Linked DNA regions of Homo sapiens: regions 1 and 2 are each linked to region 3. Evidence: promoter capture Hi-C in 16 types of primary human blood cells and fetal thymus (Javierre and others, 2016). All regions are on one chromosome and are shown on one strand. The core of a region is centred on a gene start or on the middle of the fragment in contact, and the rest is flanking DNA. Distances in the headings are between cores, read along the strand shown. Region 1 holds the start of FAM161A (FAM161 centrosomal protein A). Region 2 has its middle 78 kb from the start of FAM161A. Region 3 holds the start of PAPOLG (poly(A) polymerase gamma).

Region 1 (3,684 bases), core at 752-3,251, 1.1 Mb before region 3:
CTGTATGGTGGAAATACTATATAATGGTGTGCTACTAGACATCTTTTCTCAAATTCTTATTAAGTGATGTCACATTGGTGGCTTGAAATTGGCTATGATGGGAATATTGACATCATGGAAATCAGCAAAAGCTAAACATTGGACATTTAAACTTAAGAAACGGATGTGGAAAATATTAATGCAGAGTAAACTTAAAAGTTTGTGTTATCTGTAGCCTTTACATTGTGACTTGCAGAAAAAATTAAGAAAAATTATTCCAGTGTTAGAAAATGATTATCTATTTCAGCAAAGAAGTTGCTCATAACATTGACAAGTGAAATTCTGACATAGATCTTGGATATGTCACTCTCATCTTAATCACAAATAAAAACAAAAATATTAACCAACATTCATGTTGGAACTAGGTTGTTAAACAATTGCAACCATAAGTTGGCCACAAATACAGGAGTACAGCATAAACCAACGAAAGCATTCTGAGAGAAGCAATTGTCTATGAGGAATTTACAGTAAAGAGAATAGGATATTTCATTATTTATAATTCATCTGCTATAATTCCTTATCAATACTTTTGTTGGTGGTGGTGGTGGTGAGACGGAGTCTTGCTTTATTGCCCAGGCTGGAGTGCAGTGGCGCCATCCCGGCTCACTGCAACCTCCGCCTCCCGGGAGTGCGCCTGTAATCCCAGCTACTCCGGAGGCTGAGGCAGTTTTGTAGCCACAAAACTGGCTGCCGTGTCTGACTGGAAATTGCTCCCCTGGAAACTTGGCCACACCTGGCGGTGCATATCTCATGGTTCTGGCTCTGGCTTCTGCTTAGAACCCAGTCAGCATCTGTTCCAGCATGGGAAGCAACTGTTCAGCTAAAACCAAGAGCAGCCTGAAGGAAGTGGGGACGTAGGAGACTTTGTAGGTGCTCACACCCAGACAGGAGAACAAAGGTTTGGTAAGGGCTCAGACCTTAGAGACGGGTTCTCGACGATGTGCAGCGCATAACGAGGAAAATACTGACCGGAGGGGGCCGGTCGTAGGGCTGGGGAGCAGGAGGAGGGCAAAGGATAGAGAGGGGGTAGATAGGGAGTAGATAGGGGGCGGCAGCCTCGGCCTCAGTAAGCAGGGGCTCAGGGAGCAGATGTCTGAGACTGCACCACGTCCGCTATTTTGAGGTTTGGCTTCTCTTACTGCCACGTGGTGCAGAGGGAAGGCGCCATTTGATGCGTCCAAATCCCGAGTGGGAAGAGAAGATACGGATGAGGGAGATGGATGTGTCTGTGGTGACTCTTGGGCACTTGTGCCGTTCAATCCTGTCACTCTCAAGCTGAAGAACCCAAAGCAAACGCCAGGTTTACAATACCTGCACTATCACTCATTAGTGGGAGGGTCAGGCGCCACCCAACTCTGGGCTTTTATTGGTCATGTCAAGAAAAAAGCGAGAGGGACAACTGGGAGCCTCCTTCTGATTGGTGGATTCCTGCTAGCCCTCAAGTCAATCAGAGTAGAATGTACCGCCCTCCTTCCCACTCTGGCCCCCGCGGGAGACATGTTAGGTAGCGGGACGCCAACCTTGTCACTCTTCTGAGACCGCCACCCAGTAACACGCCCTGCTTTCCTCCGCCGCCGCCGTCTCCTCCATCAACTGTCTCCTTCTAACATGTTATTGCAGTTAATAAAAAAGCGTTCTTTTCTTCACAAAAGCAGTTGTTTCATTGTATAATGTGAGAAGTCTGCGTTCAGGCGGTTAGACGCAAAGGAGTGGAATAAGTGCCCTGTTCAGCCTGCCAACCTTCGGAACCAGCCAACAGACTCGGTACTGACTGCCATGATCCAGTAAGCACCCGACTCGGGTCTCTGGCAGCCTGAGTGGATTTTGCGTGACTTTTGGTCCCTGGCGGCTCCTGTAGCGTCCCCAGTTACGGCGCCCATAGCAACCGGCTCCCTAGCTAGGCGCCCCCGGGTTGCCAGGGGCCGCACCAGCTTTCCCGTCCCGGGCCAGCGCAGGCGCTCAGGCCTCGGAGGCGGGGCGATGGCCACCTCCCACCGAGTGGCGAAGCTGGTGGCCTCCAGTCTCCAGACCCCGGTAAATCCCATCACTGGAGCGCGGGTCGCCCAGTACGAACGCGAAGACCCCTTAAAGGCCCTGGCGGCAGCGGAGGCGATCTTGGAGGACGAAGAGGAGGAGAAAGTGGCTCAGCCCGCTGGGGCATCGGTAATACTGGGGCGGGACTTGGGCTGGGACCTCGCATGGGCTGGGTGCAGGCTGAGGGCTGTCCGGTTCCCCGCCCAGCTGAGGGCAGGCTGGTAAACGCGGGTCCCTGTGCACATAGTCCCTACTTGGTGGTCCTGGCCCAGCCCCTTCTCTACGCTCACGAAAATTACTCTAAATCGAGGCGTTGAAAAGTGTTTTAATTTTCACCAGTCTGTTGTAAAAGCTTCCTAGACAACATTTATGTTACTCTGCTTCTGGCAAGTGCAAAGTATAGAATTTTACTCTCTACTCTCCAGCATCTCGGGAATGGATATATAGAGATATATCTGGCTATATATAGTAATTTGAGGAAAACTGTTCTGTCAGGTGTGTTTCGTTATTACCTTAAGATCTTGGTTATAAGCGGATCTCAACATAGTGCTCTAAAGATGTGTGTTTAAAACCATCACGTGTTCACTGGCTAAATCAGACACGGATACAGATAAGCAAATCACTGAGGTTTCAGTGTTTCCTAAACAGCTCTTTAGGGTACAGCGAGACGGCCTTTTCACTGATCAGTTTTCATTGTTAAATCTGTTGTGGACACCAGTCCAGCAGGTAGAGGGCAGGGTCTGCCATCTGCTCAATTCACTTAAAAGATGGGAATCTTGGCCGGGCGCGGTGGCTCGTGCCTATAATCCCAGCACTTTGGGAGGCCGAGGTGGGCGGGTTACGAGGTCAGGAGTTCGAGACCAGCCTGACCAACATGGTGAAACCCCGTCTGTACTAAAAATACAAAATTTAGCCGGGCGTGGTGGTGCGCCCCTGTAATCCTAGTTACTCGGAAGGCTGAGGCAGGAGAATCGCTTGAACTTGGGAGGTGAGGGTTGCAGTGAGCTGAGATCTCAGACCCAGTCTCAAAAAAAAAAAAAAAAAAAAAAGATGGGAATCTTGAATTTAAACTAGCAATCTGCAGATAGAAAAAATTTCCTAATACCATGTGTCCAAAGCTTCTCAGACACCAAACTTATGATTGAGGACTAACTGAAATCACTGGATATTTTGGAATTCTGATCTCTTTAATCTACAGTAAAATTGTTAATGAGAACATCTTTAGCAACACCTTTTGTGACCAATCTTTCACCAACAGACAAACAACTTGAAGTTATCCAGAGTAAGGCAGACTGAGACCCTGAACATGAACCAGGATCAGAGTGCTAGGACCGATTTTGTTCATGATGAAGCTACCCCTCAACACAATTTTCAGTAGGCAACAAGGCAACGTGATGGAGAAAAAGGATTGAAGAGTTCTGTATTAGGATCCATTCCCTGCCACTTCCTAGGTGGTGTTAGGACATAATTTCCTTAAACCTCAGTTTCCTTATCTGTAAAATAACTATAATAATTGTCTCTTTTTTCCCATCTCAGCTCTATGAGAACCAAATGAAAGAATGTGTGTCTCCTCTAAAGAGCAATCTATGTAAATGAGTTGCCAGTGGGAGT
Region 2 (3,617 bases), core at 304-2,803, 1.0 Mb before region 3:
CCAGTAGATAACTTCAAGGAGCCCGGTGCCAGGGAGTGATTGCCCTCAGCAAACCTCCTGGCAGCAGGCACAGTCGTGAGTTTGCTCACATCCTGCATTCATGATAAACAGTTTGCTGTTTGATCATATAGCCTCCAGTGGTCACGATCTCTTTGTCCTTTTCAGCTCCCAACAGGCATGATCGTGGCTCACTGTAAACTCTGCTTCCCAGGTTCAAGTGATTCTCCTGCCTCAGCCTCCCAAGTAGCTGGTATCACAGACACGTGTCATCACACCTAGCTAATTTTTGTGTTTTTAGTAGAGATGGGGTTTCACCATGTTGGCCAGGCTGGTCTCAAACTCCTGACCTCAGGTGATCCTTCCACCTCGGCCTCCCAAAGTGCTGGGATTACAGGCGTAAGCCACCGTGCCTGGCCAAAAACCTTTTTCTACATCACAGTCTTTCTCCTCTCTGGGACTCTAATAATTTACGTGAGGCATTTTAGTACTATCCTACAGATCCCCAAGGCTCTGTTCTTCCTATTTTTTAAGTAATTTTTTCTCTCAGTTGTTCAGATCAGTAATTCTATTATGTACCTTCTAGGTCACTGACTCTTTCCTCTGCCATCTCCATTCTGTTCTGAGCCCATCCAGTGGGTTTTAAATTTTGGCTATTGTATTTTTCAGTTCTCAAATGGAAAAACTGAATACAATAGAAATAGGAAATCATGGCCAGGTGTGGTGGCTCACGCCTGTAATCCCAGCACTTTGGGAGGCTGAAGTGGGCAGCCTCACCTGAGGTCTGGAGTTTGAGACTAACCTGACAAACATGGTGAAACCCCATCTCTACTAAAAATACAAAAATTAGCTGGGCTTGGTGGCAGGTGCCTGTAATCCCAACTACTTAGGAGGCTGAGGCAGGAGTATTGCTTGAATCCAGGAGGCGGAGGTTGCAGTGAGCTGAGACTGCCCCATTGCACTCCAGCCTGGGCAACAAGAGTAAAACTCTGTCCTAAAAAAAAAAAAAAAAAAAAAAAAAAAGGGAAATCTTTGCCAAGACTTTCTTTTTTTTATGTTTTCATTTATTTCAAGGATGTTTTGGAATATTTTTATAACACCTACTTTAATGTCTTTGTCAGATAATGCCAACATCTGTGTCATCTTAGTGTTAGTGTCTATCAATTATCTTTTCCCAGTTTAGATTTTTCTGGTTTCTCAAATGCTGAGTAATTTTAGATTGTATCCTGGATATTTTGAATATTATGCTACGAGACTAGAGGTTTTGTTTAAATCCTGGAGTGAATGTTGACATTTTTGTGTTAGCCATAATCAGTCAGGTTGGGATTAGACTGTAAACTCCAATTAGACTTCTCTAGGTTGTAATTTTAATATCAGTTCTGTTTTTAAAGGCTTTGCAGTGTTATTTGGATCAGTCCTGAATGTTCTTGACCCAGTGGTCAGTCAAGGTCTGAGGCAGGAACTGTGTAGTTCAGTTCTCACAGCCTGTGGTACAGTGTTGAGGATCAGATCCACACATGTACAGCTTGGGAGTTACCTCAGAAATCATAAACTTTTGCTCCTTCCTCTACTCAATTTCCTAGTTTTATCCCAATTCCTTGGGGCTCCCTTTTATAGTTCTCTGATCAGAAAACTTGGGTTTTGTTTTTCATTTTATTTTTGAGACAGAGTCTCTCTCTGTTGCCCAGGCTGAGGTGTGCAATCTCAGCTCACTGCAGCCTTGACCTCCGGGCTCCAGAGATCCTCTCACCTCAGCCTCCTGAGTAGCTGGGACTACAGGCACGCACCACCACACCCAACGGATTTTTGTATTTTTTGTAGAGACAGTGTCTCACTGTGTTGCCCAGGCTGGTCTCGAACTCATGGGCTCAAGTGATCCTCCCACCTCGGCCTCCCAAAGTGCTGGGATTATAGGAATGAGCTGCTGTGCCCAGCCAAGTACATACGCTACTTTTCTGTTCACTTTCCGTAACTACGCTTATGTCTGGAGCGAGGCAGTGGGAGGACAGAGATGAAAAAAGAAAGCAGTGGGGGTTTGCCATTTACCCTACTCTGATTTTTGGGAACACAGCACCTCTGATCAGAGAGGAAAGTTCTCTTTTCTCAAAGTTTTAGGCACCTGCCTGCTCCTCTTACCATTAATGTCATTTTCACTTCTGCTTTTATAGGATTACTTGAGGTTTGGGTGCTAGAGAATGGAGAAAAGAAAAACAAAACAAAACAAAAAACAAAGCACATGAGATTTCCCCCACTTTGTCTGTATATTAGGAAACTCTTTTTCCACCCCTCAAGCCAGATCTAGAAGCCTTCTCCTGGAGCTCTTTCTGTCCACACTGATTTGGACTTCAGGCTTTTGGGCTGCACAAGTCCAGACTAGGGATATCAGAGGGGAAAAAATGGTAAGCTCTCTGCATGTTCAGTGGTACTTCATATTCATGCCTTCTTCTCCAACCTTTCTGTTTCGATTTACTTTTCAGTCCTCAAGTTTGGGAGCCATGCATTCTTTCCAGGTTAATAGCTACATTCAGTAGGAGAGATAGGTTGGGATTTGCTCACTCCATCTTACTTGGAACTAGAAACTTCCTAAAGCAGTGATGTTACAAGAAGATAATTTGAATTACAGTTTTCTAGTTTTACAATATTTTAAAGCTGATTGAATATAAATAATTTAAAAATATATTTCCAGGCCCAAATATTAACATTATAATTTAAACTACTGGATCCATCATTGACCCTTTTAATAATTGGAAGGTTTAAGACTCCCACACTCAATATATTAGAAAAATAATACATTCATGTTCATTCTCCCATTTTTTGTGTTTCTCTTTCAATATAGCACATTTACTACTAATGCTCATTTATCCCATCAAAAATGTCACATAAAAACTGGAATAATTCAGAAATTTGGAGTGGGATTCATTTACGATTTATAAGTTACCTGGTAGAGTTTGACTTATAAGAAAGCACATTGTGAGGGCCGGGTGTGGTGGCTCACGCCTGTAATCCCAGCAATTTGGGAGGCCAAGGCGGGCGGATCACCTGAGGTTGGGAGTTCGAGACCAGCCTGACCAACATGGAGAAACCCTGTCTCTACTAAAAATACAAAATTAGCCGGGCATGGTGGCACACGCCTGTAATTCCAACTACCCGGGAGGCTGAGGCTGGAGAATTGCTTGAACTTGGGAGGCAGAGGTTGCAGTGAGCCAAGATCACACCATTGCACTCCAGCCTGGGTGATAAGAGTGAAACTCTGTCTCAAACAACAACAACAACAGCAAACAGTACATGGTGAGGCTAGGTGCAGTAGCTCATGTCTGTAATCCTATCCCTTTGGGAGGCTGAGGCAGGCAGATTGCTTGAGCTCGGGAGTTCGAGACCAGCTGGATAACATGGTGAAACCCTGTCTCTACAAAAAAAAAAGAAAATTAACTGGGCATGGTGGTGTGCACTTGTAGTCCCAGCTACTTAGGAGACTGAGGCAGGAGGATCACTTGAGCCTGGGAGGTCGAGGCTGCAGTGAGCCATGATGGTGCCACTGCACTCCAGCCAGGGTGACAGACTGAAACCCTGTCTAAAAAAAATTTTTTTAAATAAAGTACATAATGAAACATATATAAGGT
Region 3 (3,926 bases), core at 82-2,581:
ACTAACATGAACAAAGCTCAGAGATACTATGTTGTGCTAAAGAAGTTACAGAATTCCAAGTGTGATACGAGTTATATAAAGTTTAAAAACAACTAGAACTATGCCAGTTATTATGAACACATGTGTATGTAGTAATAGCATTAAAAAACATGCAGCTCCCATGATTCGAGGGCGGAAAAAAAAGAAGTAAAATAAAAAACAGGCAGCAACGATAAACATCAAATTCAAGACTGTGGAGACATCTGGAGCAAGAGATGATTGGGACCAGAGAAGGAGGTAGGAGAGTCCTTCAGATGTATCTGGAATGCTTGATTTCTTTTTAAAATAAATACACAGATACGTATATACACACCGTGTGTGTGCGTGTGTGCATGTACGTGTATGTGTGTACAGTTACGTTTTGGGAGAAATGGGTGGTGGCTCCACAAATGATGCTTATGTTATTCTCTACATTTTTCTGCATGTTTAAATTATTTCCTAATAGACCAAAATGGAAGAAGCTACAACAAAATCTTGCCAAGTACGGGAACTGTTTCTGACTTATCAAAGTGTGAACAAGAGGTACAGACCGGTAGATGTTGTGGGTAGGTGGGGAAGCAGGGGGTGAGGGAGAGGGTGGGGACGGCGGTGAAAAGACTGTAGCCTCATATGAAAGAGAAACCCTTGGGCTGCGATAGGTCTTTCACTCCTGAAGACCTGGAGACAGCCGGTCGGGAAGGGAGGAGGGGGAGGCAGGGGGATGGTATTTGCGCCAATGCAGACAGGAGCAGACGGGCTCAGACAGTGCTGGGGGCAGGCGAGTGACCGACAATTTCTCCCTACGGACACAGGCACCTCTTTCCCTCCTCATCCTTTTCTGAGGGCGTCCTCGGAGGCGGGACAGCTGGGGACTCCCGGAGTCCCCGAGTCCGTGCAGGGGTGGCCAGGTGAGCCGCCGGGTTTAGGGGAGGTGCCCTTGCGGACCGGCCGGGAGCCGGGAAGGAGACCATCCCGGCGAGCTGCGTGCAGGGCGCAAGGGACAGGGAACGGAAACAAGGACACAGTCGGACCACCTCAGCTCACCCCTACCCGCCTCACCCCAACCGCCGCCCCCCACCACTTACGCAGACATCTCTTTCATCGCTTCCTGCGTCTCCCTCTCCAGCGAGTGTTTATCGCTCTGGAGTCCTGTTCTTGCTGTTCCCTTCTCCCCCTGTTCACTTTCCTCCGGTCGCTAGTAGCTCGCTTGCTCGCTCACTTTCCCACTTACTATGGCTGAGGCATCCAACCGAGTAGTGAAAACACCACAAAACCGGCTCTATTTATGACAATACAGCGCGGCCGACGCCAATATGGCGCCGCTTCCCAGCCTGCCTCTCGCAGGTCTCAGCCCCGCCCCTGGAGGTCTGGACCACCCTCAGCCACGCCCCCTCTGCCTTTAGGTCCCGGGAGGCTCCGGGGCCCCGCCCACAAGCTCAGGGCTCTCAGTATACCGTTGGTTCGAAGGAGTATTTATTTGGTACTCTCCTTTGTCCGCGGTACTGTCAATGCCGGTAGACCGCTTGGAAGGAAATTTGGAGATATGTTTTCCTTGCCTCTCGAATGGCAGCATATATCATACATTTTTTAAAAAGGTCACACCCTTGCCTAGCAAAAACTATTTCAACGCCTCCGTTATCCTACATCTTTGATTTAATTATAGTTATACATAATTAACTCACCAGTTGAGATTTTGTCTCGAAAGGGTCACACCCAGGAACATACGACTTTCACACAAGTATCCCAGGGAAAAACAAGCTTGTAAATTGGAGGCTTAACTGTTCACTTCACCCCTAAGTACCACCTTTGATTAGTGACATTCTGGCATTTAGCTGACAGAGGTTGAAAATAGTAGCTAGCAGTTTGCAATAGGATAAATCCCAGGCTGAAACAAAAATCTTACACTTTTAAATAGTGGAAATCATGTTCGATGTGAGTGTGGGGATGAAAATGAGAAAATAATAACCAATTTTAAAATGCTGAAAGGTAGAAGTAATTTCAAGCACTAAATCATTACAAAGAAAAGGAAGTCAAGAACTGCTTGCTCTTGAACATAACTCAGAGTCACAGTAAATAGAGGAGATTACTTGCTGATTAATTCATTAAAAAATATTTATTGAGGCAAGATACAGTGGCTCACACCTGTAATCCCAGCACTTTGGGAGGCCAAGGTGGGAGAATTGCTTGAGGCCAGGAGTTCGAGAACAGCCTGGGCAACATAGTGAGACCCTGTCACTACAAAAAGTTTTAAAAAAATTAGCTGGGCATGGTGGCCCATGCCTGTAGTCCCAGCTACTCAGGAGGCTGGGGTGGGAGGATCTCTTTGAGTCCAGGACGTGGAGGCTGCAGGAAACCAGGATGGCACCACTGCATTCCAGCCAGAGTGATAGAAGGAGACCCTGTCTCAAAAAAATAAATAAATAAATAAATAAATAAAAACTACAAAACATATTTTTGAAAACCTGAGCAAGGTGCAGTGGCTCTTGCCTGCAATCCCAGTGCTTTGTGACGCCAAGGCTGGTGGATCACTTGAGGCCATGAGTTCTATTAAGACCAGCCTGGCCAACATGGCAAAAACCCATCTCTACTTAAAAGCAACAACAAAAACCTGACGTGGCCTGGTGTGGTGGATCACACCTGTAATCCTAACATTTTGGGAGGCTGAGGCGGGTGGATCACTTGAGGTCAGGAGTTCGAGACCAGCCTGGCCAACATGGTGAAACCCCATCTCTACTAAAAATAGAAAAACTAGCTGGGTGCGTGGTGCGCCTGTGATCCCGGCTACTCAGCAGGGTGAGGCAGGAGAATTGCGTGAACCCGAGAGGCAGAGGTTTTTTTGAGATGGAGTCTCGCTCTGTTGCCCAGGCTGGGGTGCAGTGGCGTGATCTCTGCTCAGCCTCCTGAGTAGGTGGGATTACAGGCATGCACCACCACGTCCAGCTATATTTTTGTATTTTTAGTACAGACGGGGTTTCACCATGTGGGCCAGCTAGTCTCAAACTCCTGACATCAGGTAATCCGCCCACCTCGGCTTCCCAAAGTGCTAGGATTACAGATGTGAGCCACCACACCCAGCCAAGCAGTGTTTTATTATTTATTTATTTATTTATTTTTGAGATGGAGTCTTGCTCTGTCACCTAGGCTGCAGCACAGTGGCATGATCTTGGCTCACTGCATCCTCTGCCTCCTGGGTTCAAATGATTCTCCTGTCTCAGCCTCCCGAGTAGCTGGGACTACAGGCGTGCGCCACCACGCCTGGCTAATTTTTTGTATTTTAGAGATGGACTTTCACCATGTTGGCCGCACATCTCAGCCTCCCAAAGTGCTGGGATTACAGGCGTGAGCCACCGCTTCCAGCCTAATTTTTGTATTTTTAGTACAGACAGGGTTTCACCATATTGGTCAGGCTAGTCTTGAACTCCTGACCTCGTGATCCGCCAGCCTCAGCCTCCCAAAGTGCTGGGATTACAGGCGTGAGCCACCATGCCCGGCCACGGTGTTTTAATCAATTGCTTTTCTTCCCATTTTCCTGTCTTTGTTAATCTACCTGGGATTTAATGACAGTCCCTAACCCCCATCTCAATAAGGATACTGTATTTTTCCCAACCCCAATTTCAATAAGGACATTTTTCTTATTTGCAGTGTATATTGTAACTGTATTTGTTAAGTTAAAAATTTTCAAATGACAAAACTAACCCATGCGCATAAAAAAAAAGAGCGGACGTCTGTCCCTCCTTTCCATCTCTTGCCCAGGCTGGAGTGCAGTGATGTGATCTCAGCTCACTGCAACCTCCACCTTCCGGTTTCGAGTGATTCCCCTGCCTCAGCCTCCTGAGTAGCTGGGTTTACAGGTGCCCGCCACTATGCCCAGCTAATTTTTGTATTTTTAGTAGAGACAGCATTTTGCC

The links. The method cuts DNA at HindIII sites, captures the fragments that hold promoters and counts their contacts. A CHiCAGO score of 5 or more calls a contact.
Region 1: a contact is called between the fragment with the promoter of FAM161A here and the fragment with the promoter of PAPOLG in region 3, in 6 of 17 cell types (total CD8 T cells, naive CD4 T cells, fetal thymus and 3 more). The highest score is 9.5, in total CD8 T cells.
Region 2: a fragment that was not itself captured here is called in contact with the fragment with the promoter of PAPOLG in region 3 in 1 of 17 cell types (total B cells); the score reaches 5.7 in total B cells.

What each region holds. Positions count from the first base shown.
Region 1 is chr2:61,852,377-61,856,060 of GRCh38, reverse strand. It overlaps FAM161A (FAM161 centrosomal protein A), which reads left to right and starts at 2,001. Exons shown (of 7, transcript NM_001201543.2): 1 at 2,001-2,202. The coding sequence starts at 2,020. RefSeq lists enhancers at 808-857, 1,598-1,827, 2,068-2,227, 2,388-2,517. The HindIII fragment of the contact is 5,666 bases long and covers 1-2,427 here.
Region 2 is chr2:61,774,681-61,778,297 of GRCh38, reverse strand. No RefSeq gene overlaps it. Among named protein-coding and RNA genes, the nearest start is that of FAM161A, 78 kb to the left of the region's middle. The HindIII fragment of the contact is 5,382 bases long and covers 1-3,617 here.
Region 3 is chr2:60,753,673-60,757,598 of GRCh38, reverse strand. PAPOLG (poly(A) polymerase gamma) reads right to left here and starts at 1,331. Exons shown (of 22, transcript NM_022894.4): 1 at 1,104-1,331. The coding sequence starts at 1,120. RefSeq lists an enhancer at 1,106-1,415. The HindIII fragment of the contact is 3,911 bases long and covers 1-1,778 here.